Regions from separate parts of the Homo sapiens genome. Here all the other regions are linked to region 1. The links are contacts of gene promoters, found by promoter capture Hi-C in blood cells and fetal thymus (Javierre and others, 2016). All regions are on one chromosome and are shown on one strand. Each heading gives the region's core, a stretch centred on a gene start or on the middle of the fragment in contact. The rest is flanking DNA. Distances are from core to core; before and after follow the strand shown. Region 1 holds the start of LL22NC01-81G9.3 (a long non-coding RNA gene). Region 2 overlaps CACNG2 (calcium voltage-gated channel auxiliary subunit gamma 2). Region 3 overlaps CACNG2 (calcium voltage-gated channel auxiliary subunit gamma 2). Region 4 overlaps CACNG2 (calcium voltage-gated channel auxiliary subunit gamma 2). Region 5 overlaps CACNG2 (calcium voltage-gated channel auxiliary subunit gamma 2).

Evidence for each region. Contacts are between HindIII fragments. The CHiCAGO score rates a contact against its expected background, and 5 or more counts as called.
Region 2: a fragment that was not itself captured here is called in contact with the fragment with the promoter of LL22NC01-81G9.3 in region 1 in 1 of 17 cell types (endothelial precursors); the score reaches 5.0 in endothelial precursors.
Region 3: a fragment that was not itself captured here is called in contact with the fragment with the promoter of LL22NC01-81G9.3 in region 1 in 1 of 17 cell types (endothelial precursors); the score reaches 5.4 in endothelial precursors.
Region 4: a fragment that was not itself captured here is called in contact with the fragment with the promoter of LL22NC01-81G9.3 in region 1 in 1 of 17 cell types (endothelial precursors); the score reaches 6.3 in endothelial precursors.
Region 5: a contact is called between a fragment that was not itself captured here and the fragment with the promoter of LL22NC01-81G9.3 in region 1, in 1 of 17 cell types (endothelial precursors). The highest score is 6.8, in endothelial precursors.

Annotation. Positions count from the first base shown.
Region 1 is chr22:36,963,890-36,966,589 of GRCh38, forward strand. It overlaps LL22NC01-81G9.3 (a long non-coding RNA gene), which reads left to right and starts at 1,359. Exons shown (of 4, transcript NR_038954.1): 1 at 1,359-1,624; 2 at 2,501-2,618. The HindIII fragment of the contact is 1,620 bases long and covers 1,216-2,700 here.
Region 2 is chr22:36,685,943-36,688,642 of GRCh38, forward strand. All of the region lies in intron 1 of CACNG2 (calcium voltage-gated channel auxiliary subunit gamma 2), which reads right to left. Among named protein-coding and RNA genes, the nearest start is that of CACNG2, 16 kb to the right of the region's middle. The HindIII fragment of the contact is 4,590 bases long and covers 1-2,700 here.
Region 3 is chr22:36,595,364-36,598,063 of GRCh38, forward strand. The region is part of intron 1 of CACNG2 (calcium voltage-gated channel auxiliary subunit gamma 2); the gene reads right to left. Among named protein-coding and RNA genes, the nearest start is that of EIF3D, 68 kb to the left of the region's middle. The HindIII fragment of the contact is 7,781 bases long and covers 1-2,700 here.
Region 4 is chr22:36,576,644-36,579,343 of GRCh38, forward strand. The region is part of intron 2 of CACNG2 (calcium voltage-gated channel auxiliary subunit gamma 2); the gene reads right to left. Among named protein-coding and RNA genes, the nearest start is that of EIF3D, 49 kb to the left of the region's middle. The HindIII fragment of the contact is 7,086 bases long and covers 1-2,700 here.
Region 5 is chr22:36,559,544-36,562,243 of GRCh38, forward strand. It overlaps CACNG2 (calcium voltage-gated channel auxiliary subunit gamma 2), which reads right to left. Exons shown (of 4, transcript NM_006078.5): 4 at 1,314-2,700. Among named protein-coding and RNA genes, the nearest start is that of EIF3D, 32 kb to the left of the region's middle. The HindIII fragment of the contact is 8,480 bases long and covers 1-2,700 here.

The DNA.
Region 1 (2,700 bases), core at 109-2,608:
CCAAGAGCCTGCGGGGTTATATGCCTGCTGCGCATGTCATTTAGGGAGTGGAATTTCAATTGACTTCCGTTTTTCCTTTTTGTAAAACACTGTTTGTAATTTTACCACAAATGCACATTTATGTAATAAAAGCATAATTATAATGTTCATTTAAAATGATTTTTTCCATCTAATTCACATTCACTTAGCAGTTTAAAAAGCATAAGATATGTTTACTGCAAATTGCATCTGAAATGCTTCCCTATGTTTGAGAATGAAGTTTCAGCTAGAACAGTGACTCCTGAGATGTACTCTGCTCAGGTGTTTCCAAACTTGGTGACCACAGTCCCTCTCATCCTGCATGCTCCTCCACCTTCTGACTTTGCAGCTCCTCCTATAAGGATGTGGAATCTCTTTCCCCTCCCCTTGGGTCTGGGCCTCCTTGTGACTTCCTTTGGCCAGTAGAAGGCAGTGGGGGTGAAGCTATATGATTTCTGAGACTAGGCCTTAAGAGGCCTTGCAGCTTCTTTTGCTCTCTTAGAAGTCAGCCATGGTGTAAAGCAGTCCAGGCTCTCCTACTGTAGAGGCCATGTGGAGACAGAAACCCTGGAGGATGGGAAGCCATGTGGAGGGGAATAAGCCAGTGAAGCCCTCTCTCACTCCACCCTCGTCAAGCTCCCAGCTAAATGCAGCCACATGAATGACCTCACCTGCTTTGTGGAGCAGAAGAACCACCCAGGTGAGCCTAGCCAACCCACAGAATGGTGACAAATAATAAATGGTTGTTGTTTTCAGCCATTAAGCTTGGGAGGTGGTTTGTTAGGCAGCAGTCAATCATTTGTTCTTATGACAGACATTTGTTTGCTGGTTAGATTGGATGTAACCTGGGATCACATGATCACACATTCACAATGTCAGAAATGTCCCCAACAACAGACACTTGGCAATTTGGAATTAATAAACCCAGCTTCAGAGAATCCCTGTTTCCCAGTCACTGTTTCTCAACTTTCCTACACTGCCACCAAGTATGAGCCAGCGTCTATCCCTCTCACATTCCTCACCCCATTAATAGACTCCCTGTTTTTCTTGTATCTCGTTAATTTCTGGTATGTTTCCTAGGACCTGAAAACATAACCAACTGTCTTTCATCTTAAAAAAAAAAACTCCCCCTTCCCTCACCCCAATCAAGTATCCACCTTAGGCTTCCATACCATCTCTTTCTCCTCTTTCTAATCAAGCTTTTCCAAAAAGCTGTCTTCATATTCCCATTTCCTATTCACTCCTCTCTCTATTTATTATGACCTGGCTTTAGAATGGTCTTCCGCCAGCATCACAGAGGAGCTCCACATCACATAACCAGATGGATTCACCCCTGCCTTGACCTCTCAGACACAACACCAGCACCATGGCCACTCCTAGAGCCTTAAAAGTCTCTCCATTTTTATGCCTCCCACCACACTCTGCTTTCTCCTTCCCGCTCTGACTTTCCCTTCTCTGTTCCCCTCCTGGCCTCCCGAGCACCTCAGCCAGGCCCTTAGGCACCAGTGTCCTCAGGGGTCTCCAGGGCTCCTCTTCTCATCCCGGTCTACGTGCTCTGCTTTCAAGTTTGCAGGCTCTCTCAGGTTTTACCTAAAGGTTTTCCTAAGTAAGTGTTCTTCCCCCAAACCTAAGAGCTATGAATTCAATGACCTATAGAACCTCTTTCCTTGTATGTTCCAGAGACGAGATACCTCAAGCTCCACGTGCCAGAATGTGACTCTTTGGCCACCCCCCAGCCCCCTATCCCCTACTCCCAGTGACTTTGTCTCTTGTAAGAGGCCTTGCCCTAGGCCACTGGTTCTGCTAAGGCCAGAGAAATGCCCACACACATGGTTGCTTATGGGAAGGGGTCATCTGAGCCAAAAATGGGGAATAGAGGCAGCTGCATGCCTTGAGCCACACTTGCAGAATCTGCCTGTCCAGGCCTCTCTTGTTCTCAGTGGTGACCTGTCTGCCTCCTGTTCCTGGGTCTTCCTCTTTCTGTGACTGAGACACCCTCCCCCACTGCCCGGCTGGAGGCTCAGCTCCATCCTCAGCTCCAGGACCAGCCCTGACCCGGGGAAGGAGGGGTTCACAGGGTCACAGTTGTGCCTATACTTCCTTGAACCTCTGTCCTCATCCCTGGGCCCACCCTTGCTTCTGAGAGCTGGGCCACCCTGTGTGGCCTCTGACAACTGAGTTCCTGCCTTCTTCCCCATGCTGGAGTTTGTTCTACAAAGCTCAGATTGGAGACCTTGTTGTTCTTGATTACAACTTACTTCTCTGTTTCCCTACCTCTACAGATGTGGTTTCTAGACAGTTTTCAATTATATTGATGAGTAAAAAATTTTTAAAAACAGAAAGAAAAATACAACTTTATTTTTAAATAAAAAAGAAAATATCATTTACTATCAACATCATTTTCTACTTTAAAAAAAAGACATTTTATTTTATTTTATTTTATTTTATTTTACTTTATTTTATTTTTTGTTTTTTGAGACAGAGTCTCACTCTGTTGCCCAGGCTGGAGTGCAGTGGCATGATCTCAGCTCACCACAACCTCCCCCTCCCAGGTTCAAGCAATTCTCGTGCCTCAGCATCCCGAGTAGCTGGGATTACAGGTGTGTGCCACCACGCGCAGCTAATTTTTGTATTTTTAGTAGAGATAGGGTTTCACCATGTTGGCCAGGCTGGTAAAAAGGG
Region 2 (2,700 bases), core at 161-2,660, 280 kb before region 1:
GCTTGAGGTGTGCCAGGCACTGTGCCGGACAGCCGGTCACAGAGGTAAATGTGACACCATCCATGTCTCAAGGGCTTTGCCACCTGGTTGAGGAGACAGATACTTGAAAACAGAGAAGCACAAGGAAGTGTCTGGATCTTTGCCGACATCTGAACTGGCAGAGGCTGCAAATGTCTGAGGGTGGAGGCTCTTTGGCTTTGAGGCTGGCAGGAGAAAGGGGAGAGTGGCCACCACTCCTGGCTTGGATGGGCCCCTGTCTAATCCCTTCACCATGTCAAAACGGACACCAGGGCATACCAAGACAACAGCAACAGCTCGCTGCCACAACCCTCCTCAGATATAAAGGCTCATCTCTAAGGAGATGACCCTGTCACAGAGCAAGTCCAGAAGAAGGAAAAACCTCCGTTTCTTGGTGCTGTTTCAGGCTTCTCTTCGGTCAAATCCTGCAGCTCTTTCATGCGGAAGGGCCCTTGGATTTGATGACTTTGTGGGAGAGATAGGGGAGCCCGGAGCTCCCCCAAGGGTATCAGCTGGCATGTAAGAGGGAGGAAGGCGGATAAACAGACTCAGGCATGCAATGGGCCTGCCTCCCAGAGCTGGGGATTCTATCCACCCTCAAAGAGGCAGCAGCAGAGGCTGTGACCCGGAGGGAATATTGTGGTGGTGGAATGGCACAGTGCCTTCCGTCCCACAAGCATGAGTGAGCTGCTACTACGTGCCAGGCACCGTGTCAGGTGCTGGAGACCCCACACTACTTGCTGCCTGGGACCCGGGCACAGGGGTTCTAGTCCCTGCACTGCCACTTGCTGACTCCGTGGCATGACCAAGTCCCTTCCTTTTTGGGCCTCATGTTCTTCAAAGTCAAGGTGAAGATTTGGACTAGATGAGCCCTGTGGAGTCGCCGCTAGTCAACTTCCCTCTCTCATTTTCCCATAGCAACAGAAACTCGAGTTTTCCTCCAGGCATGTGGCCACCTAGAATAAAGGTTATCTTTTCCAGATTTCCCTATAGCTAATGTGTGGTCACGTAGCAAACTTCTGCCCAATGAAACTAAGGCAAAAATGTTGTGTGATACCTTCTAGGAAGCCTTCTCAGGAGCCAGGTGACAGGTGCCCTTTGCCCTTGTTTTTTTGTGCCATCCTCCACCTTGATCCATGGGATGTGAAGGCAGTGGCTGGAGCTCTGGCAGCCCTACTTGACTGTGAGGTTGAAGGACCCACTGTGGGGATGATGGAGTGGGGAGCGAGCAGGGGTCTGCATTGTTAACCGGTTTGTGGAGCCTCCAGGCCAGCCTTGTAGTTTACAGCCCCAGATTTGTTTACTTGAAAGAGAATAAACTTTTTGTTTTGTTTAAGACACTGCTCATTTAATTTTTCTGTTACTTATCATCAAATCTAATCTTTCTTGATATAATCTCTAAAAATCTCTTCCAGGTGTACTATTCCAAGGTTGTGACACTAGGTTGTGAACAAACTCTTTGTCTTATTTAAACCACTGTTAGTTTTATTTTTCTGTGGCTTATTGTCAAATTGAATCCTTCCTGGTACAAGCTCTAAAGCCTTTTCCAGGTGTGCTGTTCTGAGCTTGTGGCATTAGGGGAATTCTTTGGGTAGACATTCCCTGTGGTCGGCAGAATAACAGCCTCCCAAAGATGTCCACATCCCAATTCCTGTAACCCGTGAGTGCGCCACATTGCATGGGAAAGGGGATTAAGGTTGCAGATGGAATTAAGGCTGCTAATCAGCGGACTGTAAGAGAGGGAGATTATCCTGGATTATCTGGGTGGGCACGTGGTAATCCCCAGGGCCCTTAGGTGTGAGGGGGGAAGCAGGAGAATCACGAGAAGGACTCTGTTCAACAACTCTGGCTTTAAAGATAGAGGAAGTGGCTACAGGCCAGGGAAGGAGGCAGCCTGTAGGAGCTAGAAATGGCCAGCAAGTAGATTCTTCCAAGAGCCTCCGGAAGGAATGCAGCCCTGCCCACACCTTGGTTCTAGCCCAGTGAGACCCAGGTTAGACTTCCAACATCCAGAACCATCAGATAATAGGTTTTTGTTGTTTTAAGCACTAAGTTCGTGTAATTTATTACAGCAGCAATAGGAAACATACACTCCCACTGGTATATAATGGGTAAAATGAGAATCCTAACACCCATGTTACAGAGTGCAGTGCAGCCAGGGAAGGTGACAGACACATGGTCCTCAGCCCAGGGCCCAGCACACAGGAGACTCTCAAACAGTAGCTCTCGGGGAAAATCACTCTTTCTTCTTATATCTCTGGTCACCTCATTTAACCTTAAATGATAATGTTAGCTGAAATGGGCTGGGTGCAGTGGCTCACGCCCTGTAATCCCAGCACTTTGGGAGATGGAGGTGAGAGGATCGATTGAGCCCAGAAATTTGAGACCAGGCTTGACAACACAGCAAGGTCCCATCTCTTAAAAAAAAAATTAGCTCAGTGTGGTAGTGCACACTTGTAGTCCCAGCTACTCATGATGCTGAGGTGGGAGGATTGCTTGAACCCAACAGTTTGAGGCTGCAGTGAGCCATGATTGCACCACTGCATTACAGCCTGGGCGACAGAGTGAGACCCTGTCTCAAAAAAAAAAAAAAAAAAAAAGTAGCTGAAATGAAATGGACTGATAGAGGTGCTGGGACTGAACTAGTGGCTTTCCCAGATCTATGCACTCTGAATTTATTTG
Region 3 (2,700 bases), core at 29-2,528, 370 kb before region 1:
CAGCTCTCGTTAGCAGTTTGAAATCAGCCGTGGTAGGTGTATTCACACCATGGGAACCCACGGCAAATGCTACAAACCAAGTTCCCCACCTCCAGCCCAGGGAGCTGATTGTTAAACATGTACCAGCACACCACTGGATGAAGGGTGATCCTATGTGAGGAGTCAGCTGGTACAAAGACGTGACAAATTGGTGGGATTGGAGATTTGCAAAAGGACTGGTCCCATCAGAGGGCTGGGTGGGTGAGGGTGAGGGTGAGGGTGGGTGATGGCTGGAGTGGAGTGCAGGGGTCTCACTGCCCGCTGTCCCCTCAGGCATTGGCTTTGAGCTTCCAGAGGAAAGGGGATGCAGGGAAGACTCTCCCACCATGAACTATAAAGGGTTATTCAGCTAAGGGGCTCAACAACCATGACTCTCCATGGAACCTCCATCCCAGAAGAGTGGCAGTGCCCCACCAACCGCCAGGCTGAGTGAGTTCAGGCCCCGCTGAGGCGGAAAGGCCAAGGGCTGTGCCGTGGGCTGGCACAGCTCTGGCTCAAGGAGTTTACCATGTCAGGCTGGGAATTGCAGCTTGCAGGTATTAAGTAGTTTAAGAGGAGGTTTCATCAGCTTTGTAAAAAGCACATTAATATCTCACACCAACTGCTGTCTTGTTTCTTTAGATACAATAAGCTCCTCATAAACCTGGTCATTAGGGGCTGAACAGACTCTGTTTTATTTTCCACATATTCATGAGAAGCTGAAAGAGCAGCTCTGGAGCCAGGAGGGGACACGGTGGAGCGAGCTGAGGCGTGGGGAGGAGGCTGTCTGAGTAATTTTTTAAGTGAAGCAAAGGAAGGGTTTAGTGGGAGCTGCTTTCTCTGTGTTTTCAACCTTTGCTGCTCCTGGCTTTTTGCTTTCCTGGCAATACCTCCCTGACGGCAGGGATTCGGGAGGCCTCAGGGAGGGTGGGCCATGCCTGGCTTGTTTCTGGCTGGAACCCCAGCCCCCTGGGGCACAGCGCAGCCACCAGCTTGGGTTGGATGGTTTGCAACAACAGAACGTGTGGCATCCTATGAGTTTGATCGTTCTCTCGTTCGTTCATTCATTCTTTCAGTGGGTAGTTTCTTTCTTTTTTTGTTTTTTGGGAAGGAGGGAGGGGAGGAAGAGCTAGGGGTCAAGAAGGGAGAGGGCAGTCTCAGTGGGTAGTTTCGAATGCCTACTGTGTGCTAGGCACTGGGCAGGGTGAGATGAAGTAAGTGGTCTGTCCTGCCTGCCTGCCATGAATTTGCTCCTTCCATTGGCTCTGAGCTCCCACTTCACTGAAGTCCCCAGCACTCAGGAGCTGACCACAATGAACAATTGCTCATCCAACTTTCAGTTGCATCCTGTCCTGGCTCTTGTCTCCATAGCTACCTCTTCAGTTCTTTTTTTTGAGACAGGGTCTCTCTCTGTTGCCCAGGCTGGAGTGCAGGGGTGTGATCATGGCTCGCTGCAGCCTTGACCTTCTGGGCTCAAGAGATCCTCCCACCTCAGCCTCCCGGGTAGCTGTGACTACAGGCATGTGCCCAGCTAATTTTTGAATTTTTTTTGTAGAGATGGGGTCTCGCCATGTTGCCTAGGCTGTTCTTGAACTCCTGGGCTCAAGCGATCCGCCCTCCTCAGCCACTCAGAGTTCCTTCTTTAGTTGTTGTTGTTTTGAGATAGAGTCTCTCTCTGTTGCTCAGGCAGGAGTGCAATGGCACGATCTCAGCTCACTGCAACCTCCGCCTCCCAGGTTCAAGCAATTCTCCTGCCTCAGCCTCCCAAGTAGCTGGGATTACAGGCATCAGCCATCACTCCTGGCGAATTTTTTGTATTTTTAGTAGAGGTGGGGTTTCGCCATGTTGGCCAGGCTGGTCTTGAGCTCATGACCTCAGGTAATCCACCCACCTCGGCCTCCCAAAGTGCTGGGATTACAGGCATGACCCACTGTGCCAGGCCCCTTTAGTTCTTCACATGTGATTTGGGGGAGGAGATTGGGCTCCAGAGTTAGAAAGATTTGGCTTCTAAGCCTGGCTCTGTTACCTAGTAGCTGTGTGAATTTGAGCAAGTTATGTGACCTCTCTGTGCCTCAGTTTCCTTTGCTGTAAGAAGGCAATATCAGTCCTCACCGAGGGGGTAAGGGGATTAACTTTGAAGACTCGATGAAATAACAGAAGTGAAGGGCCCCAGTGCAGTTCTTAACCCAGAACAGATACTCAACAATGTAGGTCCTCCTTCTTTTTCTTCTCTTTCAAATGGCACCTCTTTCAGGAGGCCTTTCTTGATTGCCCTTAGCTGGGAAGACTCTTTCCTCTCCTACGCTCCTATGCAGTGCTTTTCAGCATTTTAATGGGCATGGGAAGCCCCTGGGGATCACGTTAAGCCAGGTTCAGATTCGGTGACTCTCAGTGGCCTGAGACTCTGTATTTCTCATGAGCTTGCAGGAAGTGCCCACGCTGCCAGGCCCCAGTGGCGGGGGCCACACTTTGGGTTGGGTAGCGAGGCTGTCAAGCACCTTTTAGCTGCTTTGGTCATATTCTCTTTGTGTATTGTTGTTTGGGAACAAAGAGCTGCAAGTCTGTAAGCTCCTCAAGGGCAGAATTTCTTCTAGAGGATTCCCTGAATATACCATATTTTCCTTGATTCTAAGACGCTCACATGCAAATTTCAATGTTTCTGAAATTGAGATGTGTCTTATA
Region 4 (2,700 bases), core at 6-2,505, 390 kb before region 1:
GAGGAGAACAAAGATGGTGGGTGAGAAATAGAAAGAGAAGTCAAACGCTATGGTTTGGAGCATGGGTTCCAGATGCAGCCCGCTTGGGGTCTCCTCCTGGACCCCCACTGGCTCTGTAGCCTCTGTGCCTTGCCTTTCCCATCTGTGTGATGGGGACACTGATCATCTCACCCTCATAGGGTGGTTGTGAAGATGAATTAAGATAATGTTTCAAGTGTCAGGCCTGGCACATCGTCAAGTGTTCAATGAACGTGTGCTATATATAATAGCACATGAAAAGCATTTTGAGAGCCCAGGGAGCTAACTTGGGGAGTACCATCTGTGCAGGATGCCGGATACATCCCTGCTTCCTGCTGTCAGTAGAGATTGGTGACCAGTCGCACAGGCTCAGGAGAAAGGCTGCCGGAGTCCATCTTCCTAGCTGTGACCTGGTCCCCCGGGGGCCTCTGCTGCCCCCTCTGCCATATGGAGATCACAAGCACACTTAGCTCACAGGGTGCTATGAGGAGTAACTGAGTACACACACTTGAAGCAATGAGAATAATGTCTGGTATGCGAGGAGCACCAGCAAATCGTGCTCATCATTCCAGCGGAGCAAATTGTTGCTGTCTCTCACCGGGCTTTGGGTTACTGAGGCTGCTATTTATTAAAGTGTGGGTTGTGACTCATTACTAGGTCATGAAATCGGTGTAGTGGTAGCAACCAGCCCTTAAAGAAATGAACCGGGGCCGGGCGCGGTGGTTCACACCTGTAATCCCAGCACTTTGGGAGGCCGAGGCGGGTGGATCACGAGGTCAAGAGATCGAGACCATCCTGGCCAACATGGTGAAACCCGGTCTCTACTAAAAATACAAAAATGAGCCAGGCGTGGTGGCGCAGGCCCGTAGTCCCACCTACTTGGGAGGCTGAGGCAGGAGACTCGCTTGAACCGGGGAGGCGGAGGTTGCAGTGAGCCGAGATCATGCCACCGCGCTCCAGTCTGGCGACAGAGTGAGACTCCGTCTTGGAAAAAAAAAAAAAAAAAAAAGAAATGAACTAGGACAGAATAGAAACTGCCGGCCAGTGTGCGTTCAGGAAGGCTGGGTGGCTTTTGGGGAACATTTTGCTCTGGTTCTGCAGATGTGAGTGAGTACAAGTGGCAGCTTAGATGTTTCCTAACCATGGGGTGGGGTCACAATAGTTTTAGCCGCACTGGTTGTGATGACTTCTGGAGGGGATGTCTCTCAGAAGCCCCCTCATGGCAATGTTTTCTAGAAGGGGCTGAGAGCCCTGGGCAGTGGACAGGTAGCAGGATAATGGACCTGGATAATGCTCCCAGGGTGCAGTCCCAGAAAGTGTGCCGGGCTGGGGCAGGTCATTTTCCCTCTTGGGCCTCCGTTTTTCCCTCATCTGTAAAATGGGAGGGTGGGGCTGGGTGATCCTAAGCTAGGATGATGGGCTGGGTGCGGTAGCTCACACCTGTCATCCCAGCACTTTGGGAGGCCAAGGCTGGCAGATCACTTGAGGTGAGGAGTTTGAGACCAACCTGGCCAACATGGTGAAACCCCGTCTCTACTAAAAAAAAATACAAAAAATTAGCTGGGTGTGATGGCGTGCACCTGTAATCCCAGCTACTGAGACAGAAGAATTGCTTGAACCCAGGAGGCGGAGGTTGCAGTGAGCCGAGATGGCACCACTGCACTCCAGCCTGGGTGACAGAGCGAGACTCAATCTCAAAAAAAAAAAAAAAGCCGGAATGATGGATCATTACACTTCTAAAACTCTAGGCGGGTGAAGCCTGGTGGACGCCCCTCATGCTGTTCCACTGGGGCTCTGGGGAGACCTAAAAAAGCACTGTTCACGGGAGGCTCAGAGAAGTTGTGTAACTTGCCAAAGGTCACAGAGTGGAGCACCCCTTGAATTCAGGCCCTTTTATTCTAAGTAACAACCTCGGGTTTTGACACCTGGTCTCCCCACACTTCCCTGGCTCATGTTCCCTGGTGGGACTGGTGGAGGTGGGGAGAGAGGGGCAATGGGAAGGAGGGACACTGTCTGAGGCCAGGAAGGGTGGCTCTGGCCCAGGTTGACACCCAATATCCTCCTCTGACCTCATTCTGGGAAGAGGGTGAACATGCCAGCTGCCCTAGGGCGGGCGGTACCTTGTTTATTCACTTAGCAAACCTCTCCTGGGTCTGATCCTGGGAAAGGCCCTGTGCTGGAGGGGGTGGATGGGTGGGAGGAGGACACTCTATTTGCAGCCACTCCTTGTGGTGTCCTCAAGCTGTTCACAGTCCGTGGGGAGAAGATTCCGTAACAGAAACCAAGATGAAACAGACCGGCAATAGAGTGGTCACCTCCCCGCACAGCAGCCTCGTCCTACATTCCCAGCCTCAGAGAAGGGCAGTAATGTTTGCCCCATCTGCCAGCCAGAACTCCTCGCCATCCACAAGACCTCTCTCTTACTTCTCCCATCCAGGCTGTCAGTAAAAGCTGCCAGCTCGACTGGGCATGATAGCTCACACCTGTAATCCCAGCACTTTGGGAAGCCGAGGTGGGTGGATCACCTGAGGTCAGGAGTTTGAGACCAGCCTGACCAACATGGTAAAAACCCGTCTCTACTAAATACAAAAAATTAGCTGGGCGTGGTGGCAGACACTTGTAATCCCAGCTACTTGGGAGGATGAGGCAGGAGAATCACTTGAACCCAGGAGGTGGAGGTTG
Region 5 (2,700 bases), core at 15-2,514, 400 kb before region 1:
GGAGTGCAGTGGCGCGATCTCGGCTCACTGTAACCTCTGCCTCCCGGGTTCAAGCAATTCTCTGCCTCAGTCTACCGAGTAGCTGGGATTGCAGGCGCCCACCACCACGCTCGGCTAATTTTTGTGTTTTTAGTAGAGACGGGATTTCATCATCTCGGCCAGGCCGGTCTTGAACTCCTGACCTCATGATCCACCTTCCTCGGCCTCCCAAAGTGCTGGGATTACAGGGGTGAGCCACCTCGCCTGGCTGATAGACCATTTTTTAAGGTCGTTAGTTCGATGTGCAGCTGTTAAATCTTCAGACTTAAGTTATGGAGAGTGAGCCTCCCTTTCTACTCTTGCCCTGGACCCCACAAGTGTTAGGGGTGAGCCTGGAGAGAGAGATAATTGAGATTGGTGGGGGCTTGGTGGTGTGGCCCCAGCAGACTGAGGCTGAGTTGAACAGGGAGTTTTGAACATTGGACCCTTCTAGAGTAGACTTTTCCGGGCCACGTCATACAGGGCTTACCTTCTCTTAGGTCTGTGCGGTGTGTAGGTGTCATCTGCTTGCCATCTCCTTTCTCTGGAGCCCCAGGAGAGCTGTACAGTGAGTATGCTTCCCCAACACATCTTAGATAGCACTGTTATCTTAGACAGCTGTTTTGGGGCATGACAGGTCATCCTTCCAATGGGGCCTTTCTCTGATGTCAAAGGTCAAATCCTCCTGTTAGCATTCCATCTTGTCTTTCTCATCTCTTCAAGTTAAGAGAGTCCCAGGGACCCTCCCCATTCTTCTGCCACTCCATGGCTCTCCTCTTCCTGAGAAGCACCCCTCTGCAGGGAGCCCCCTGAGTAAACTGGTAGGGTCATGTCCATTCCAAACTGCACAATTTCACGGGGGAAAATGGAAACCCTGGAGTGTAACTGGGATGTTGAGTGGGGCTGCTTTATTCTAAAAGATAAAACTCAAGGACGTCATGCTCTCTGTCTTCAAATATCTGAGGGGCTGTCATGCTGAAAAGGGAAGGGATTTATTCAGTGTTGTTGGAGTGTGAAGGAAGAGGTGGATTAAAATTCAGTGTGCAGAGAAGACTTTTGCCAAAGAGTGCTGCTTAGCACTGGCTGGTGCTATCTTTGGAGGGGGTGAGCCCGCTGTCACTGGAGGCGTGCAAGTATCCCTAAAGGATATTTAATAGGGAACTCATGATCTAGAGAGTGGGGGGACACCCTACTGTACAGCATCTAAACCTCTCATCCCCAATAATCTGTAGCTTTAGGATTGTTTTAAATAGGATGCCAGGAGTTGGGAAAGGAATTAAAGAAATTCACTGAAGTGAGGACCAAGCTATAAAAAAAAAAAATCTTTATTTCATGTACCAGGATTTTTTTTTTCAGTTTTCTGCTTTTTAAAATTTTTTTTCTGTTAACAGTCTGAAAAAAAAAAAAAGGACTCACCAAGAAAATAAATGGAGGTTAGTTTCTTGAACTGGTCTGAGCTGGACATGAGCAATCATCCACACCCCTGGGCAGCAACGCCCTTGCAGTTCCGGTCCTGGCTCCTTCCCTCCGGACCCCCTAGCCCCTTCTCAGCCATGGCGATGTCACCCCACACCCCAGTGGCTTTCTTCAAGCACACCCAGAACCCAGGCCTTGCGCCATGGAAAGAAGCACTGATCGCCTTCCCAGACGCTCTGCCAGAATTCGGAGAACTGGAGCTAGTTTTTCTCTTCAGACAGTGCTCGCTTGGGTGCGGTTTTCTTGGGGACCCTCCCTTCTCCCTTCGCTCTCATCCTTGATCCCTTTAGGTCTGGAATCTGGTGGGATGGCGGGCAAGATTGGGGTGGGAGAGGGGTAGAGTTCAGTTTCTGCCCAGACTGAGGGCAACTTGGTTGTTGTTACCACACCTTGAATTGTCTCCCATTGTTCTGCCCCAGGGCCCATGACCTCCCCCTGTACTTCTGGGCTGGGCTGGCCGATGTTCTGCCCCTTGCTGACCTGGGAAAATAACTTTCCTTTCCCAGGCAAAAGACAGGAAAGGCAGGTGAGATGTGCAAGCTCAAAAAGCCTTACTAGCCATTCTCTAGAACTCCCCAGAGAGCTCAACCTCAGGAAATGCCGGTGTCAAGAAAAATGCAAACCGGGGGAGACTCGCAGGCAGAGGCAGGGGGGCCTCACCTTGACCTTCAGTCACCTGGGAGTAACTTGCAGACTGTTCTGAAATTTCCAGCTCAGGAAAGCTGTTGGATTTCTGTCAGTCTGAACTGGCCCTTGTCACTCTGGGGAAGAAAGGGGAGAAACACAGGATGCCCTTGACCTTTAGTCTGTGGTGCAAGTTTAACTTTTGGGGTTGGTCCTTACACTGGGATGGAACTGCTAAAATTTTCCTCTCCATTCCCTCAGCCTTGAGCCCTCCCAGTAAACCTCAGAGGATCCTCTTTTTCACAGACCCCCAAAGACACTGGGGAAGCCCTGGTGGCAGAGCTCTTCTCCCAAGGAAGCCTCTTTAACTCTCCATGATCGCAGCAAGGGGACACAAAGTGAAGAAGGGCTTTGGGGACCCCTGCGTCTTTCCCCTCTTTGCCTGAACAGCTTTATGTTTGCTCACATGTGTGTATTTTTGCTTTGACATTGGATGTGGGGGCAGGTGTTCGGGGAGCACAGTGAGGAGGTATATGGTGTGTGTGTGTGTGTGTGTCTGAGAGGCTGACTGATGATGAGCCT